Regions from separate parts of the Homo sapiens genome. Here region 1 is linked to region 2. Evidence: promoter capture Hi-C in 16 types of primary human blood cells and fetal thymus (Javierre and others, 2016). All regions are on one chromosome and are shown on one strand. Each heading gives the region's core, a stretch centred on a gene start or on the middle of the fragment in contact. The rest is flanking DNA. Distances are from core to core; before and after follow the strand shown.

Region 1 (3,119 bases), core at 460-2,959, 96 kb before region 2:
GTTCCAAGGGTGTCCGCGCTTGAGCTCCCCACAGAAGCAGGACCTGTGACAAGGGCTGATGTGCAGGCTGTTTAGGAATTGATGCCAAGTAACAGCAATGGGGGCTGGGAGGAGTGAAAGAGGGAGGTGGGCTTGGTGTGGTGGCTCACACCTGTAATCCCAGCACTTTGAGAGGCTAAGGCAGGAGAATCGCCTGAGGCCAGGAGGCCAAGACCAGCCTGGGCAACACAGGGAGACCGCATCTCAACAAAAAGTTTTAAAAATTAAAAATTTTAAAAATAGTGGGAGGAGAAAGAAGCATCCCAGTGTGGTGTTATTGGCCTGGTTACCTCCATGGGCTGCTGGGACTGGATCCCCTGGAGACCCCCTGAGGAAGCGTGTGAAAGATGCCTCAGAATTGTCCACCCAAGACATGGATGGAAGACAGATGAGCTCATCAGCTCCTGCCCCTATTGGTCAAAGTTTTCCCCCAAGGAAAGCCACCTCCCTTGAGCTTCCAAGTTTACACACAAGCCAGTATAGCTAAGCAAGTCCCCGCAGGCTTGGACAGAAAGCCTGCCACAGCAGATACCCACTGCCACAGCTGTCAGGTGACAGCTTGTTGCGGTTGTCAGAGCAACGCCCAGGAGCAAAAAAGGCGAGCCAGGTCAGGCGCAGTGGCAAACTCCTGCAATCCCAGCAATTTGGGAAGCCAAGGCAGGAGGATTGTTTGAGGCCAGGAGTTCAAGACCAGCTTGGGCAAGAAAGAGACCCCTGTCTCTACAAAACATAAAAAATTAGCCAGGCATGGTGGTGCGTGCCTGTGGTCCCAGCTACTCAGGAGGCTGAGGCAGGAGGATAGCTTGAGCCCAGGAGGTCAAGGCTGCAGTGAGCCATGGTCGTGCCAGCACACCCTAGCCTGAGTGATAGAGCGAGACCCTGTCTCTAAAAACTTAAAGAAAAAAACGGTGAGCCAAGAGCATGTGAAAGGAGCGTGAAAGGAGCATGAAAGGGAGGTGGGCAGAAGAAGCTGGTTGGATAGAGGAAGTGAAAGGAAGAGGCGCATTTGTACAGACAGCCGCCCTTCTGGACCGAGTAACCACGTGGAGAGTGGTTCTCCATCCACCCACATAGGACGCACAAGGAAAAGAAGAGGTTCCCAAAGATAAGGGATTTCATGGGGAAAATACCTCATCGAATGGACTGCGACCCTCAAGGGAAGATGTTCCATAAGCTCGGCGCGAGTCAGGCAGTAGGGAGAGGTCTTGAGATCACAGGTGAAGTGAAGGCTCCCAGGAAGGGTGATTGCAGGGCGAGGGCCTCCTGACCTGGAGACAGGGCCCCAAGGAACAGTCATACGAAGAGGGCAGAGGACAAATGAAGAGGGAGTGGACAGAAAGAGAAATGGGAGGAGAGCCATGTGCCAGGAGCCAAGTGATTTAAATGCAGGTGTAGTGCCCTGGAGAGTTCCATGTGTAAGAACAAGTAAATCATTGTTGCTTACCTCTCCCTTGAAAAAAAAAAAATACCCTGCTTCTTGTCCTAAGTTCCCAGGCTCTCTTTTTGCCTACTCCCTCCCCAGTTGCTGAGTCCAGTCAACCCTCCTGCTACAGTATCCCCTATAGCGCCATTCACCTGCCCTCCTCTGCTCCCTTGGCCAACATCTAGGTTCAGAACCTCATTGTCTCTCTTCTGGTCTGTCCTGCCTCCTCCTCCCTCTGCTGCTGTCCATCCAGGTGGATTTTCCTAAAGGGAAAAGGTGCACTTGAGGGCAAATTTCTCTTGGCCATGCACTTAGGAGGGGGATTTCTGGGTAAAGGGGTAAGTTCACTGCTTTTCTAATTCTCTACTTTTTCCTTATCCTCACCCATAAATCTTACAACCCCCTTGAAGTGCAATAACTTTATTTCTAGGACCTCTCAGAGCCTTTGCCTGTGCTGTTCCCACTTGCCGGGAATGCCTTTCCCTTCATCCCCAATAGTTCAAGCCCCACCTTTTCCTGAGCCCAGCTCAGATGCCACCCCCTCATCCAGGAAGGCCTCCTTGATACCTCCCTACCAGAATTAATCTCTCCTTCTCTTGTGGTCTGAAGACTCTTGGCTTTCTCCCCTGTCCTATTTTTGCTTGTTATCACTGACATTGCTTTACACGCTTTTTCTCCTCTGCTGGGAGCAAGGGCAGTTTCTATGTCACAATGCCCCACTATGCCCATTAAGCTACAGTGCACATGGTACCCATCCCGAGACCAACATTCTTTTTACACTTCTGTGCTTCTGACCTAGGAAAGTCTTACTTTTCATAGAGTGTCATAGCTGAGTTGGAAGCTCTTTTCTTAGAGCCTCTTAAAATAATGGCGTGCCTTATAGTCAATGATCTCTTACATTCCATTAAATACAGTAGGAGATGTTCAACCAATATTTGCTAAATTGGAGGAGTTAAAGTCATTTTGAGTAGGAGAGGGAATCTAGACCCACTATTTGGATTAGTACAGATTTTAGTGCAACTCAGGGCTTCTGCAGAGCCCCTCCAGCTTTCACCTGTCCACTTAGTTGATGATGAGCACGCCTGCGAACTCTTCACACTTTCCAAACCCACCAAGGCAGCTTCTCCCGTAAGGACATGTTTCTTACCTTCAAGACCCCTGTTGCCTCCAGCAGCAATCTCAGTAATGACGTCTACTTCTGTTTCCTGCTTCCTTCTCCCTGACTCCTGCTTCCTGGAGTCCCCTCAGATAAACCTCCTGTGCCCAAGACCTTGTCAGGGTCTGCATTTACGGGAACCCAACTAAAATTCCAGGACCACCATATAAAGGTCCCTTTGTCGGGGGCTGGGCCTGCTCTGGATACGGTAGGGAAGTGGCTCCAGGGTCTGCGGCCAGCGAGGAGAGGGTCCGGCAGTCACCAGTGGGAGCTGTTTCCTCCCGTATTCCTCCCACCTGTCCCTACCTGTCCTGCTGGCGGGGTAAAGAGTGGGATTTACCTCGTGACAGCTGCCTTACAGCCCCATGAAAAGGCACTTTGGGCTGCGGTTGGGGGGAGCGCATCTCCAGGGATTGCAGGGTAGGAGGACAAGAACTCTCCCTGGCCTGGGAGTCAGGGAAATGGAGAGATCAGAGCAACACAAGTGCTGGGAACAGATGG
Region 2 (3,162 bases), core at 612-3,111:
TTTAAGTTAAAAAAAAAAAAAGCAAACACAAAGATGCTTCAAGATCTTCAGGAGAAGTATGGTATACAAGTTTCAGGGACCCTATTTGACAATTTTCAGAGTGCTCTCTATGCTGATTCCGAGTCGAGTGTGTCAGCTGTGATTACAGTGCCTGTGGATCTAGGCCGGGTTGGGGGGGTGTGGGCGGGGGAAGGGAAGTCTGGCCCGGAGCAATTGCTCCTGCCGGTAACCCCAGCACTTTGGGATGCCTAAACAGGCGTATCGCTTGAGGCCAGTAATTCGAGACCAGCCTGGGCAACATGGCAAATCTGTCTCTACAAAACAAAATTAGAAAAATTAACTGGGCGTAGTGGCATGTGCCTGTTGTCCCAGCTACTTGGGAGGCTGAGGTGGGAGAATGGCTTGAGCCCAGGAAGCGGAGGTTGCAGTGAGCCAAGATCATGTCACTGCACTTCAGCCTGGGTGACAGAACCAGACCCTGTCTTTAAAAAGGGAGTTGGTGGGGAGAGGTTCTAGAATGTCATGTAGCAACCAGTTTAAGGACTGGGACTCAGGGATCCAACTCCCACAGTTTCCCTGTGTGACCCTAGGCATTTGACTTAGCCTTTCTGAGCCTCAGGTTTTTTGTTTCTGAAGTAAAAGGATTGGACTAGGTAATCTCCAAGATCCTAGGAACCCAGGAGAAAGATGAGAAAATGTACAAGAATGAACACTCAGGTGGAAATGCTGCAATCCTGAGAAGCTCCCAGGATGAATGAAAGGCACAGGACCTCTTACCCCTCACCCCTGCCCCCCTCAAGAGCTGGTTTCTCAAACCTTTCTCTTAGGCCCCTTCAAAGGGGGAAAACTAAAAATTATACAAGTTATAGTTCAAGGACTTTAAATAGATTATTTATATGATTGCTCATAAGGATGAGGCTGTGAGGAGGGAACACCTTATTTAATCTAATGAAATTCCATAGGAAAGAGGCCTTTTGTATATTGAATCAATTTATCTGCCTTCTCAGTGCATCTGTCATATTCTGAAAGATTCTGGGTTGATCTTTTGCGATAACCTCTATGGCTGTGAGTGTGTGTGTGTGTTTGTGTATTTTTTAACATTTTGTATAATGATTGGAGGTTGGTAAAAAGTAACACAACAGTACTTTTTTAATACAAACTTGGTGTGGTCTTGAGTTGTCTTCCATTGGAGAGCGTACGTGTGCCACAGATTGGTGCACCTGCCGGCATCTCTAGGATTGCACCAACTCCCTCTAGCTCTTCTTGGTGGCCTGCAGGGGCCTAGGGCGCATTCACTTCCCTCTGCTTGACTTTACGTGGTGTTCTAGCGTCAGACATCAGGCGATGCCGTGCATTACCCAAGACACTGGACAGCTCCGGATCTTCCCGTCTAACCACTAATCAAGTTAAAAAGAGGAAATTAACGCTTTCTTAGTAGTCTCTGAAAGAAACTAGTTATTTGCGTAAAGATGACTTGGTTTTGTGTTGTTTATCCCTGGGGAGAAGGGTAAAGAAGACCCTCAAACTGGATTTGCTGCTGAAGTGCTTTTAACTCACCTGTGCGGAGAGCGGACTTCAAGAGAGGGCGTGCCGGTGCTCCGGACAAAACCTGGGGAATACTGAAAGCCACCACCACCACCGTCATTCCAGCATGCAGATCTCAGTCCTGGGTTGGTGTTGTAGGGCATTTATTTATTTGACTTGACGGCGCCTTTCAAAGCTTGCGAGGATCCCTTCCTCTTCCTCGTGTGCATCTGCCAAGCCTGTGCCCCGCGCCTCGCGGGTGGACCCGGGCTGGTGGGCGGGGCCTGCAGCGGGGTGGGAGCCCGGTCGCCCGGCCCCTCCCCACCCCGCCCCGCCCATCTCCGCTGGTTCCCGGAAGCCGCCGCGGACAAGCTCTCCCGGGCGCGGGCGGGGGTCGTGTGCTTGGAGGAAGCCGCGGAACCCCCAGCGTCCGTCCATGGCGTGGAGCCTTGGGAGCTGGCTGGGTGGCTGCCTGCTGGTGTCAGGTGAGGGGTCCGCGGGGAGGGGGCGCGCTTGGGAACCGGGAGGCCCCGCGAGATGCCGCCCCTGATCCCATCCCTGGGCGCCCTGCAAGTGACTTAAGAGCCTTCGGGGCCTCGGGAGAGAAGATGCAAACGCCACGGCCGGCTGCTGAGACGCAACTAGGCTGCTGCTGCCGTCGATTCTGTAACAGGAGAAAGCCCCATCCGCGCCCGGATTACAGACCGTCTGGGCCCTAAACTCAGGGGGAGACTCCCGGCGTCTTTTGATTCCCTGTCCTCCTGCAGCTCTCTGCTGGCGGGCGTCTAAATAAAGTAGCTTCCCCAAAAGACCCAAGATCCCACCGTGGCTGTCATCTGACCCTTCTGGAGACTATCAGTTCAAGTGGAGGCCCCCACCAGTCCCCGAGTGCCCTGACAGCCCTCCCTGACCCCAAGTCTGCCCCCTCAGTGCCAGCCCTCCCTACAGATGTGCCTCCCATCACCCGCTGCACCTCCCCTCCTTCCGGTTCAGGCCCGAGCACCCTGAAATCTGGATTCTGTCCCCCAGCGCCCCAGCTCCATGGCTTCTAAACCTAAATCCATTGAAACCTTTTCTGTCCTCTAAATTGACTGCCTAGGTTCCAATAACACCATGGTCACCTCCTTCCTTTCTCATGAACTCTTCCCTGGCCTTCCGGGATACCCCTCCGGTTTCCCGCCCTGTCAGGCTGTCTCTGCTTGGGACCCTCCTGCTCTGTCAGGTTTCTATGTAGCTAATTGTGATGCCCAAGGCCTTTTCTCTCCTTCCCTGGCACTGTTCCTTTGGGGGATTTCAGCCAAACCCTGGCATTAAACACGGGCTATAGGCCCATGACTCGCACATTTATATCTCTCTTGGTACCAGTTGGGTGATGGGTGGTGGTTTATTATAGTCTTCTACTTTTCTACTTGCATGTAGGTTTCAAATTTTCTTTTCTTTCTTTCTTCTTCCGTTTTTTTTTTTGTTTGTTTGTTTTTTTGTTTTTTTGTTTTTTTTTGAGACAGGGTTTTGCTCTGTTGCTGTGGCCCAGGCTGGAGTGCAGTGGCTTGATCTTGCCTCACTGCCACCTCCGCCTCCCGGGTTCAAGCGATTTTCCTCCCTCAGCCTCCCGAGTAGCTGGAATTACAGGTGTGTGCC

The links. Contacts are between HindIII fragments. The CHiCAGO score rates a contact against its expected background, and 5 or more counts as called.
Region 1: a contact is called between the fragment with the promoter of LINC01548 here and the fragment with the promoter of IL10RB in region 2, in 11 of 17 cell types (neutrophils, non-activated CD4 T cells, total CD8 T cells and 8 more). The highest score is 13.7, in neutrophils.

Annotation. Positions count from the first base shown.
Region 1 is chr21:33,168,527-33,171,645 of GRCh38, forward strand. LINC01548 (long intergenic non-protein coding RNA 1548) reads right to left here and starts at 1,710. Exons shown (of 4, transcript NR_024102.1): 1 at 1,615-1,710; 2 at 1,170-1,307; 3 at 1-55. RefSeq lists an enhancer at 922-991. The HindIII fragment of the contact is 7,514 bases long and covers 1-3,119 here.
Region 2 is chr21:33,264,506-33,267,667 of GRCh38, forward strand. It overlaps IL10RB (interleukin 10 receptor subunit beta), which reads left to right and starts at 1,862. Exons shown (of 7, transcript NM_000628.5): 1 at 1,862-2,009. The coding sequence starts at 1,961. All of the region lies in intron 7 of IFNAR2-IL10RB (IFNAR2-IL10RB readthrough), which reads left to right. IFNAR2 (interferon alpha and beta receptor subunit 2) reads left to right here. Exons shown (of 9, transcript NM_001289125.3): 9 at 1-1,159. IL10RB-DT (IL10RB divergent transcript) reads right to left here and starts at 1,755. Exons shown (of 2, transcript NR_038974.1): 1 at 1,558-1,755; 2 at 1,127-1,397. RefSeq lists enhancers at 1,378-1,437, 1,468-1,537 and a silencer at 1,708-2,117. The HindIII fragment of the contact is 8,663 bases long and covers 1,719-3,162 here.